Linked DNA regions of Homo sapiens: region 1 is linked to region 2. The links are contacts of gene promoters, found by promoter capture Hi-C in human tissues and cell types (Jung and others, 2019). All regions are on one chromosome and are shown on one strand. The core of a region is centred on a gene start or on the middle of the fragment in contact, and the rest is flanking DNA. Distances in the headings are between cores, read along the strand shown. Region 1 overlaps RGS20 (regulator of G protein signaling 20). Region 2 holds the start of LYPLA1 (lysophospholipase 1).

Evidence for each region. The method cuts DNA at HindIII sites, captures the fragments that hold promoters and counts their contacts. A contact is called where the count stands out against the background at its distance.
Region 1: a contact is called between a fragment that was not itself captured here and the fragment with the promoter of LYPLA1 in region 2, in 1 of the 25 tissues and cell types used here (hippocampus).

Annotation. Positions count from the first base shown.
Region 1 is chr8:53,905,185-53,911,016 of GRCh38, forward strand. The region is part of intron 1 of RGS20 (regulator of G protein signaling 20); the gene reads left to right. Among named protein-coding and RNA genes, the nearest start is that of RGS20, 27 kb to the left of the region's middle. The HindIII fragment of the contact is 5,266 bases long and covers 1-4,019 here.
Region 2 is chr8:54,097,680-54,103,874 of GRCh38, forward strand. It overlaps LYPLA1 (lysophospholipase 1), which reads right to left and starts at 4,268. Exons shown (of 9, transcript NM_006330.4): 1 at 4,076-4,268; 2 at 3,229-3,260. The coding sequence starts at 4,144. LYPLA1-TCEA1 (LYPLA1-TCEA1 readthrough) reads right to left here and starts at 4,268. Exons shown (of 21, transcript NM_001425842.1): 1 at 4,076-4,268; 2 at 3,229-3,260. RefSeq lists a silencer at 3,822-4,391. The HindIII fragment of the contact is 3,514 bases long and covers 3,043-6,195 here.

The DNA.
Region 1 (5,832 bases), core at 137-2,636, 200 kb before region 2:
GACTTCCCCTACTAGAAAACAATGGACCAGCTTTTTCTTAAAATAGACAATAAAACCCAAATAGTCAGACAATAAAACCAAAAGACAGAAATTTTTGAAAACCCATAGATTTGCCTGGAAGCAAAGTTTAGAATTTCCACAAAAATCCACCAGCTACTAAACTGTTGGCTTTCTGTATCAAACATAGTGGAAATAGAGCTTTGATTTGATTTTTTGGTCTATTTGTGCTGAAGTCAGTGCAAGTAATTCTAGCTCTTCATTAATATTTCATGAGCCACAGTGAGATGGACTTTTGTCTGGTGATGACTATACTGCAGGATAATGGGCCAGCGTCCTCTCAAACTTAGAATCGCCTCATCTCAGCATCCTACTAAACAGAACATCACTGTTGACCAGCATTCAGCTTACGTCTCGGCTGCTAATAGTAACAGGGCCTGTTTGTGACTTCAGCAGCATCTGGTGACCCGGTGTTACTCTTGCAGTACGTGATTCAGAGAAAGCCACATTCCCCTGTTGCTATTTTCAGGTAGGCAGCTAAACCCAGGGAGAGTTTAGCATGGATTCAGCAGGTCTGTTTTTCTAACTTCATTGTGTAAATTCTTGAATGAGAATCTAGCGAGCAGCCAAAAAAAGACTTCCTGTGAACTCATCTTCCTTGAAGCCAAACATCTTCAGAAACTGTTTCCTTCAGGTTCTGGAAGCCTAGAGCCCTTCAAATGAGATTTGTCCCTCTCCCCAACACACTTTATGCCTCCTGTCCCCAGCCAAATGGCTTTTCCATCCTTTTCCTCCTCCCGTTCATTCGACTTCCAGTTCTGTCTGAAGTCAGAGGCATGCATGGGGCTGAGAGGGGCCTGGGTCACAGGGTCCCCCTCCTCCACCCACAAGTGAACATCCAACTTTAAGACCAAGTATTTAAGACCAGAGGATCCTACAAAAAACTCACTCAGGCCAGGCGCGGTGGTTCATGCTTGTAATCCCAGCATTTTGGGAGGCTGAGGCGGGCGGATCACGACCTCGTCCCTACTAAAAATACAAAAAATTAGCCGAGCATGGTGGCACGTGCCTACAGTCCTAGCTATTTGGGAGGCTAAAGCAGGAGAATCACTTGAACCCGGGAGGTGGAGGTTGCAGTGAGCCGAGACAGCACCCCTGCACTCCAGCCTGGGTGACAGAGCAAGACTCCATCTCAAAAAAAGAAAAAAAAACAACTCACTCAACCCTCTGCTACTTTGCTATCGAGTGGCCCCCTAAGTGTGCTGGCAAATGTGGTATCTGTGAAAAATCATCCTCCATCCAAGGCAAAATAGTATTAGAGAAAGATTTCCCAGGCAGGGGAAACCTAGAAGGCAGGACGACCTAGAGGAGGGTAAAATTAGGAGTAAATTGAAACACGTTGTGTTAAATACTCAGAAACATTACTGCAGAGAACAAGGAAATGAGAGTGTCTCTTGAGGCTGCAGTACAGGAGGATATTCCTGGAATATCGCAGTGCTTTTCATGCACCTGGGAACCACAGTCAGTGGGAGCTCAGAAAACAGTGAAATTGAAATGAATGAGGCTCATGAGGAAAGGAGTTTTGTTCTTAATGTGGAACAGCAACAAAGACCCAATCGTTTGAACAGGCTTAAAAAAGTACTGGGAGAGATATGTATAGGGCACAACTGAGGGACTAAGGTAAAATCATAGCATCCCAGTGCAATGCAAGGGGAAGGCTTACAGCTGAGAGTTAGGAGGGAGACTCCCTTGTTTGTGTCCATCTGCTATAGTTGGTATATTGGGGATTACCAAAGCTGTAAAATCCCCAGACATAGCTCTCTGGCTTCACGTTCCACCCCATTTTAATGTCATTAGTCATTTCTTCAATGTGAAAGCAGAAAGAAATGTCCCATCAATTAACTCTGTAGCATATCGTAACAAAAATCTGGGAGAAGCAATGGAGCTAAGTGGCCGGGTGGCTTGGTATCAGAGCTGCCTTCACACTGGTCCCATTCTTCCTTATCTCAGATAACAAAGCATGCAGATTCCTCCTGCTTGTGAACCACATTTTTTTTCTGAAGCATTTGATGTTTTCTATGTCTTGTTAGCCTTCCTGTATCTATTAAGATTTAAAGAATCTTGGCTGGGCGCGGTGGCTCACGCCTGTAATACCAGCACTTTGAGAGGCCGAGGTGGGCAGATCACGAGATCAGGAGTTCAAGACCAGCCTGGCCAACATGGTGAAATCTGTCTCTACTGAAAATATAAACATTAGCTTGGCATGGTGGCACGAGCCTGTAATCCCAGCTACTCAGGAGGCTGAGGCAGGAGAATTGCTTGAACCCAGGAGGCTGAGGTTGCAGTGAGCCAAGATTGCCCCATTGCACTCTAGCTCTGGGTGACAGAGCAAGACTCCATCTCAGGAAAAAAAAAAAGATTTAAAGAATCTTTCCAAAATATTTAAAGAGTAAGAGAGACGCTCTTGGGGATGAGGAGTGGCGGGGCAGGTAATGATTCTCCTGGGAGGCCAGAGGCCAGGCTAACAGGCTCCTGCATCTCATGGCTTCTTAGGATCCCAGAAAATGAATGGCAAGCTTACACTTTGCATTTTAGAGGGGTAGGAAATGAGGGGCCAAAAGATTTAACCAGGATACAGATTAAGTTTAAAGGTCATTACCGGCTACCGTGTCTAAGGGTGAGGTTTGGGATTCCTGCCTTTGTGTCATTGTGCAGCCATCAGAGGTAGGAGGTACGGTCACCCTGACCCTGAAATACTCACAATGCCAGCCCAGAAAAAATCCATCTAGAAGTGCATTCTGCAGGGTAGAGTCTCGGGTTCAATGAAGTTGTGAGGCAGGTGATGAAAGGTCAAAGCTGCCTGACGCATTCATGATGCTTGACAGAGAGCGCTCAATCTGAAGATCATTGACAGTGAAACTATTGAAAACGGCATATGCATATGGAACAAAAAGATGGAAAACGTTGGGAGATGGGATAATGGGTGATTAACTCTTAGAAATGTTCTTTATAGAACATTGAAAGCAAAAAATAAAGGCAGGCACATGCAGACAAGGCAGCTATGGAAAGGAAGTCATGAAAGTTAGAAGCAATAGTTGGAATAAAGCAATAGATAATGGAGATACAGAAAAGTAAAACACTGGACTTGCCGAGCTACTAAAACTTATACAGACTGCTGCTGGGAGCGGTGATTCATGCCTGGAATCCTAGCACTTTGGGAGCCCAAGCTGAGTTGATTACTTGAGCCCAGGAGTTTGAGACCAGCCTGGGCCACATGGTGAAACCCTGCCTCTATTCATAATACAAAAATTAGCCAGGCATAGTGGCAGGTGCCTGTAATCCCAGCTACTCGGGAGGCTGAGGCAGGATAATCTCTTCAACCTGGGAGGCAGAAGTTGCAGTGAGCTGAGATCATGCCATTGCACTCCAGCCTGGGCAACAAGAGTGAAACTCCATCTCAAAAAAAAAAAAATTAGCTGGGTGCAGTGGCTCACACCTGTGGTCCCAGCTACTCAGGAGGCTGAGGTGGGAGGATCACCTGAGGCCCAGGAGGCGGAGGTAGCAGTGAGCTATAATTGCACCACCACACTCCAGCCTGGGTGACAGGGTGAGACCCTGTCTCAAGATAAATAAATAAATAAACAAACTATCATATCAACACAGAAAGTTATAAAGCAGCATTCAAAATCATATATATACTCTTGTAATCATGTAAATAATTTTTGTGAACAAAGGGAAGGAAATGCAAAATAAAATTTAAAATATTGGCATGATGGATTTATGGCATGTTATTCTTTTTAAAAATATACTTGGTAACAGTTGTTGAGCATTTAATAATTCCAGGCACTATGTGAGGATTTTACATGAATTATCATATTTATTCCTCCCAGCAACCCCATGAGCCAGATACTATTATTTTCCTGATTTGACACAGAGAAGTTGGGGTGACCTGCCTGTGGTCATACAGGTAGTGGTGGTACTGGGTCCATTTGATTCTGAGTACTCTATTATCCATTATGGTATGTGTGTATATATATATATATATATATATATATATATATATATATATATATACTTTTTTTTTTTGAGACAGGGTCTTACTCTGTCACCCAGGCTGGAGAGCAGTGGTGTTATCTCAATTCACTGTGGCCTCTGCCTTCCAGGCTCCAGCAATCCTCCAGCCTCAGCCTCCCAAATAGCTGGGACTATAGGCCCGCACCACCATATATGGCTAATTTGTTGTTGTTGTTGTTGAGACAGGGTTTCCCTATATTACCCAGGCTGGTCTCAAACTCCTAGGCTGAAGTGATCCGCCCATGGCCTTGGTCTCCCAAAGTGCTGGGATTACAGCTGTGGGCCACCACACCCAGCCCCTTATGCTATTTTTTTTAAAGGCTGTTATTATAATAGTGTACAGGTAGATATTTAAATGCATGCTTATATTAAAAATTTGGAGATATATTAATGTTCCTATGGCAGAATGATATCATAGTCCTGGTACTTGATATTGGAGGTTTCTTGCTTCTGGTAGAGAAGTAACATTATAGAAAGTAGCAATACAGTGGGAAGGAATTGTTGTGTGAATAATGATGAACCATTTCTGAGAATGGATTAAATGTGTATGATACACTTGTCTTTGACAACTTTTGACTGATGTGGAAGGACAGAGGTGATGGAAACTCTAATGAGGAAGGAAAATGTCTGCTGGGTGTGTATTCTCTCTCTTTCCTTCTAGAGTCCTTTGTATCTAGAGTGTCTGAGACTGGGGAAATGAAGGTGACCAGTAGATAGTTGAAGAGAGCAGGGACAAATGCCTTCCTGGGCTGGGTTCATACATTTTATTAAATTCCCTGTTACATTATCAAACAGAAAGGGTAAAGATGCATTGAGTCATGAGGTAAAACACAGAGGGATACATTATTAGTTCTTTAATCATTCATCACATATGTATTAAACACCTTTACATAAAACAGAATCAATCAAAGCACTATTAGGAACATGAAGAAAGCCATGTAGCCAGCAAAAGTATAGATGCCCTGGTACCAGCAAGAGCACAAAGCTGGTATTTGAGGGGCTCTTGCTTCAGGCTATGGGCCAAAAAAAATTACCAAGACCCTCCACCAAGGAAGAGGTACCCATAGCAGATAATACATGAAAAGATGTTCAACATTATCAGTCAAGAGGGAAATGCAAATTAAACCCACCATGAGCTGCCACTTACGCCTATTAAAATCGCCAGGAAAAAAAAAATCTGACAATGTCAGCTACTGACAAGGATGTGGAACAATTGAAACTCTCATTCATTGCTGGTGGGAACAGAAAAAAGATACAGCTCCTTTGAAAGACAAGTTGGCATGTTCTTAGAAAGCGAATAAACATGCACTTACTATGTGACCCAGTGAGTATTTACCCAAGAAAAATGAAAACATACACCCACACAAAAATCTCTGCACAAATGTTTATAGAAGCTTTATTCATAAGCACCCAAAACAGGAAATAACACAAATGTCCATCAGTAGGTGCCTGGACAGACAGTTATAACCATATAATTGAGTACTACTCAGCAGTAAACAAGAATGAACTACTGATACACACGACCAGGTGAATCTCAAAAGCATTACGCTAAGTGAAAGAAGCCCAGACTCCAAACAATGCATACCATATGATTTAATTTGTATGATATTTTGGAAAAGGAAAAACTATCATATCAATCTACAAAGTAATAATATACCTAAACATGTTAAAATCATACAGGCCACATTTTCTGATCAAAATGTAAAGAAACATACAAACTAGTCAGGCTAGTCAAGAAATTAAAAATAAACTTTAAAAAGG
Region 2 (6,195 bases), core at 3,018-5,517:
TACATGGAAAATTCCAGAAATAAACAGTGGGGGATGCTCTAAAACCCCTAGTGGATGCCTGAATCCATGGATAACACCAAACCCTATATATACTATGTTTTTTCCTATACATAATGCTTGTGATAAAGTTTATTGTGTAAATTAGACATAGGAAGAGATTAACAATAATAAAACAATTATAACAATATGACAACATCACTTCTCTTGCACTTTGGGGCCATCATTAAGCAATGTAAGGCTTATTTGGATAAAAGCACTACAGGCTGGGCGAGGTGGCTCATGCCTGTATTCCCAGCACTTTGGGAGGCCAAGGCGGGCAGATCGCTTGAGGTCAAGAGTTCCAGACTGGCCTGGCCAACATGATGAAACCCCGTCTCTACTAAAAATACAAAAATTAGCCGGGTGTGGTGGTGCACGCCTGTAGTCCCAGCTACTCAGGAGGCTGAGGCAGGAGAGTTGCTTGAACCTGGAGAGTGGAGGTTGCAGTGAGCCATGATTGTGTCACTGCATTCCAGCCTGGGTGACAGAGCAAGACTCTGTCTCAAAAAAAAAAGCAAAACAATACCAAAACAGTTGACCTGATAACCCAGATGGCTACCAAGTGACTAACAGATGGTGAATGGATATAGCATGGATACGCTAGGTAAAGGAATGATTCGTGTCCTGGGTGAGACGGAATGAGATTTCATCACAATACTCAGAATGGTGTACAATTCAGGCCAGGCATGGTGGCTCATGCCTGTAATCCCAGCACTGCGGGAGGCCGAGGTGGGTGGATCACTAGAGGTCAGGAGTTCAAGACCACCCTGGCCAACATGGCAAAACCCCATCTCTACTAAAAATACAAAAAAATTAGCTGGACGTGGTAGCACGCGCCTGTAATCTCAGCTACGCCGGAGGCCGAGGCACAAGAATCACTTGAACCCGAGTGGCAGAGGTTGAAGGGAGCCGAGATCGTGCCACTGCACTCCAGCCTGGGTGACAGAGTGAGACTCCATCTCAAAAAATAATAATAAAATAAATAAAAAAGAATGGTGTACAATTTTAAACTTATAAAGTATTTCTGGAATTTTTCATTTAGTATTTTCAAACCACAGTTAACCACGGGTAACTGAAACCATGGGAAGCAAAACTGCAGGTAAGGGGAGACTACAATATCTTAAGTATTAAATTGCCACTTGTCAGGCTGACAGGTTCGAAGTTTCATCATGCACTCATGGAACCAATCTAGAGTCAGCCTTTCCTTAGCATTATCCCACCAAATAATTTCAGAACTGGAGACCTTTGTTTTTTCTTTTATCACAACAGGTTAAAAAGAAGGATACTTTTTTAATATAAACTTAACTTTTGGTCAAGATGTAATGGATGTTCTTGGTATTTTTGATCCTAATAGTCTTCACCATTTTTACTTTTAGCTTCAGTCTGTGGAATCTGCCTAGACTGAAGTTTTTTTTTTTTTGCTTGAACTAATCATTCAGGCATAGAAGTGCTCATTATTGGCAAAGTTAGAGGATAGCAACCTTCTCCCTGACTTGCAACATCAAGAAAGGTTTGGCCATAAAATAGAGATTCTGCTATTCGAGTTTCATTTGGTAAAATAAGTTCATCATTTTCACAGGACCACTGGATTGCCAGAAAGAGTGCTGCAACCTTTTCTGTAACTCCATACAAAGTTTGTATTACATAACTCGACTTATTAGGCAAAAAATAGGAATCACTTTTAAGTGGTGGCTCACGCCTGTAATCCCAGCACTTTGGGAGGCTCAGGTGGGTGGATCATTTGAGGTCAGGAGTTCGAGACCAGCGTAACCAACATGGCAAAACTCTGTCTCTACTAAAAATACAAAAATTAGCTGGCATGGTGGCAAGCAACTGTAGTCCCAGCTACTCGGGAGACCCAGGAACCCAGAAGGTGGAGGTTGCAGTGAGTCAAGATCACGCCACTGCCCTCCAGCCAGGGCAACACAGCAGACCCTGTCTCCAAACAAACAAACAAAAATCTAGCCTAATGGCATTTTTTTTTTTTTTGAGTCTCACTCTGTGGCCCAGGCTGGAGTGCAGTCGTGCAATCTTGGCTCACTGAAGCCTCTGCCTCCCAGGTTCAAGTGATTCTCTTCTCTCAGCCTCCCTAGCAGCTGGGATTACAGGCATGCACCACCACACCCGGGTAATTTTTATATTTTTAGTAGAGATGGGGTTTCACCATATTGGCCAAGCTGGTGTCGAACTCTTGACATCAAGTGAACTACCCACCTCGGCCTCCCAAAGTGCTGGGATTACAGGTGTGAGCCACCGCGCCCGGCCCCAATGGTTCATTTTAAAGAAAATTTAGTCGTTCTGGGGCTACTTTATCAAAATTTATTTATCTTCAGTTTTCCTCTATTTCTGCAATTTTTCAACAACATTCATATTTTGCTTAAGTTTCACAGATTATCACCAATTTAAATATAAAAACAAAAACATCTCAATATAGAAAAAGCTTGAGTAAAAGATAAATCATGTATCTAAAGTTAGTACAAAAGGCCAGGCTCAGGCAGCTCCCACCTCTAATCTCTGTGCTTTGAGAGGCTGAGGCTGAAGGATCACTTGAGCCCAGGAGTTCAAAGCTGCAGTGAGCTAAGATCCTGCAACTGCACTCCAGCCTGGGCGACAGAGAGAGCCCTTGTCTCTAAAAATAATAACAAAAGAAAAAAGCAAACAAACAAAAAATAAAATAAAAATAAGTAGTTAGTACAACAAATTGTTTGATAAGCCTCCAAATAAATCTTTGAGTTGCCTCCCCTGCCTTTCAACTCATTAGAGTGAACATCTAATCCCTCTATTCAGAATGCTGCATGCCTTATGTTGCCACTAGTTCTCTTATCAAAATCAACTAGTTCTTCTCTTCAATCTGCTCTGAAATTTTAACTGCTCTGGAAAGCTCTCAATTGCACACCGTCCCTACTAACATTCCACGGATCTCTGGTATCCAATACCCAAAGCAACTAATGAGGAATTTGAAATTTTAATATGTTCCAGAAACCAGAGTTAAAAAATCAATAAACTCACGATGATAAGGGGAAAATTCTGAGGGTTTTCAAAACATAAAATCACCGCACTGTAAGATACATTAACTGGCAATCTTAAAATACCATTTTAGCGCCCTTAAACATTAAACCTTTGAACGCGTAAACAAAAGTTGCATGACCCAGTTTCATTACTGTTACTATTAATAATAATGGTACCTACCCAGTATCTCCCAATCCATGCAGGAAAATCACCTATAAGAGAAGAGGAAAATTAATAAGCAATGCCTAAATAAGCCCACACAGGATTGTTACACACTAGCTTTGCTTAAGGTGGAAAACGGAACGAAACCTACGAGAGAATTACACAACACTATCTTCGGCGACTTAATCTTTATCGACCTCTTTTAAATGGCAAAAATTCTGATCAACTTCTCCCTTTATTTCCTGAGATAATGAATGGGGGGGGGGTAGCACTGAGAGGTCCCAGTTAGACATTGAGTGCAAATGATCACATTCTAAGAAAAACAGTTTATCTCTTTCAAGTGAAATCAGGAACATCTCACATATCCTGTAGAATTTTTCCACTGCAAAAGCAAGCTTCCGGAGGCAAAAATAAGTTTGACTTTTCATACACGAGTTTTCTAAAAAACAGTACGTCTGACCTTGTAGGACACTCAATCTTCAAACTTCTTTCATTGAGGATAAGAGTGCGAGGTGACAATAAGGCGATTTCCTGGCGGACTTAGGTTTCCCTCACCCACACACCAGGCAGAAACACGCTGCAGAGGCTGACGCCGTGCCCTAGGCCGGCCCGCGGGGGTCCCGGGGCCACACTTCCTCCGCAATGCAGGGAGGAGCTGGGGACTGGCCCTCGCGCCGGCTGTGACCCCCCGGCTGCCCCCGCCCCCCGCGGACCCGGCCGCGCGGACCATTCGCACCCCACCCGGGCCGGGAGGAGCGTCCTCGTCCGCAGGCCGCCACGCGCCCGCAACGCCCACCCCGCGCGAGGGGCAACCACCGGTGGCCGGCCCAGTGGACCCCTCCGAGCCCACGCCTACGCCACTCACCGCAGCGGTGGCCTTCCGGGCGGCGGGCACGATGGCGGGCAGCGGGGTTGACATGTTATTGCCGCACATACACCGCCTCAGCTCACAGCGCAAGCGGAAGGAAGAGCGGGCGCCCGGCCGCGGCCCAAGGGCGTGCGAGCGGCGAGTCCCGGCCGGCCCCACCGGGCGCACGCTCAGGCGCGTGCGCGCCAACGCGGCCCCGCGCTACCTTCCGCGCGCGCCCGCGCGTCCAGGGTCCGCCCTGCCCTGCCCCTCGCCCGCCGCCCCTCCCTCGGCACCTCACAATGTCCGGGCGGCTCCCTCCCTCCGATTGGCTGCGGCGGCAGCGCGGACCTGGCTGCGCTTTCGCCACACCACGCAGCCTGCGCATGCTCAGTGCTGGCTAGGGAAAATGTGCTCTCAGGTGCAGGCTGAGGGCTGGTCTCTTGGGTCTTGGTTTAGGTTTTTGCTTTTCTGGCGCTGTAGTGAAAAGAATGAGCCCCAGAGCCAATTCACCCAACCCAACCCCAGGTGCTCCTTGGTTTCCTGCGGCCGGGGTCTATCCATTTGTAAAAGTCTGGATGGACTGGGAGACGTTGATGGAGCTTTTGCAGTATTTCCGTTTGGGGCTACAGCAGTATGTAGATTTGGGTTCAACTTACCTTCTTTAAACTTTAGTTGGAAAGGGTAACATTTGTCACCAGAAATCCACTACTTCCCTAACTTGATCGACAACACTTACTGATGTACGGATATTGACACAGTACAGGTTTAAGTGAGAGGTAAAGCCAGCTGGTCTTCTGGGTCGGTTGGGGACTTGGAGAACTTTTCTGTCTTACAAGAGGATTGTAAAATGTACCAACAGCACTCTGTAGCTAGGATTGTAAAATGCACCAATCAGCACTTTGTGGCTAGCTAGAGGTTTGTAAAATGCACCAATCAGTACCCTGTAAAACGGGCTAATCAGTGTTCTGTAAAGTGGACCAATCCGCAGGACTTGGGCCGGGACAAATAAGGAAATAAAAGCTGGCCACGCCCCCCATCCCCTAGCTGGCAGTGGCAGCCCTGGGTCCCCTTCCACACTGTGGAAAGTTTGTTCTTTCACTCTTCACAATAAATCTTGCTGCTGCTGCTCACTCTTTGGGTCTGTGGGACCTTTAAGAGCTGTAACACTCCCAGCACTTTGGGAGGCCGAGGCGGGTGGATCAGGAGGTCAGGTGATCGAGACCATCCTGCCTTAACACGGTGAGACCTCGTCTCTACTAAAAATACAAAAAAAAAAAATTGGCCGGTCGTGTAGTCCAAGCTACTTGGGAGGCTGAGGCAGGGGAATGGCGTGAACCTGAGAGGCAGAGCTTGTAGTGACCTGAGATCGCGTCACTGCACTCCAGCCTGGGAGACAGAGAGAGACCTTGTCTCAAAAAAAAAAAAAAAAAAAAAAAAAAACTGTAACACTCACCACGAAGGTGACAAGCTTTATTCTTGAAGTCAGCGAGACCATGAACCCACCGGAAGGAACCAACTCTGGACACATAAGCATGAGACTAGACTGCCCTTTTCTGCACAGGTGCCTTTATGGCCTAAAATGTAGTTACTCAACAAATGTGTTGCATATCAACTACATGGTAAGATCTGGAAGAGAGCACAAGATAGAAACACTTAAAGCCAAAATGCCCTGACCTTCAGAAGTTTACAATTCAGTGAAGGACATACTGGAGGCCGGGCGCAGTGGCTCAAACCTGTAATCCCAGCACTTTGGGAGGCCGAGGTGGGCGGATCACGAGGTCAGGAGATTGAGACCATCCTGGCTCACACGGTGAAAACCCGTCTCTACTAACAATACAAAAAAAAAAAAAAATTAGCTGGGTGTGGTGGTGGTTGCCTGTAGTCCCAGCTACTCGGGAGGCTAAGGCAGGAGAATGGCATGAACCCAGGAGGCGGAGCTTGCAGTGAGCCAAGATAGTACCACTGCACTCCAGCCTGGGCAACAGAGCAGGACTCCATCTGAAAAAAAAAAGGACATACTGGATACCATCCTTAGAGAGTAAGGTTCGGAAGAAAGCTGTAAAAAAAACAACACTCCATTTCTTTCACACGGTAACCAGTGTCAGAGGCGTGTGAACCAGAGCAACTCCATCTTA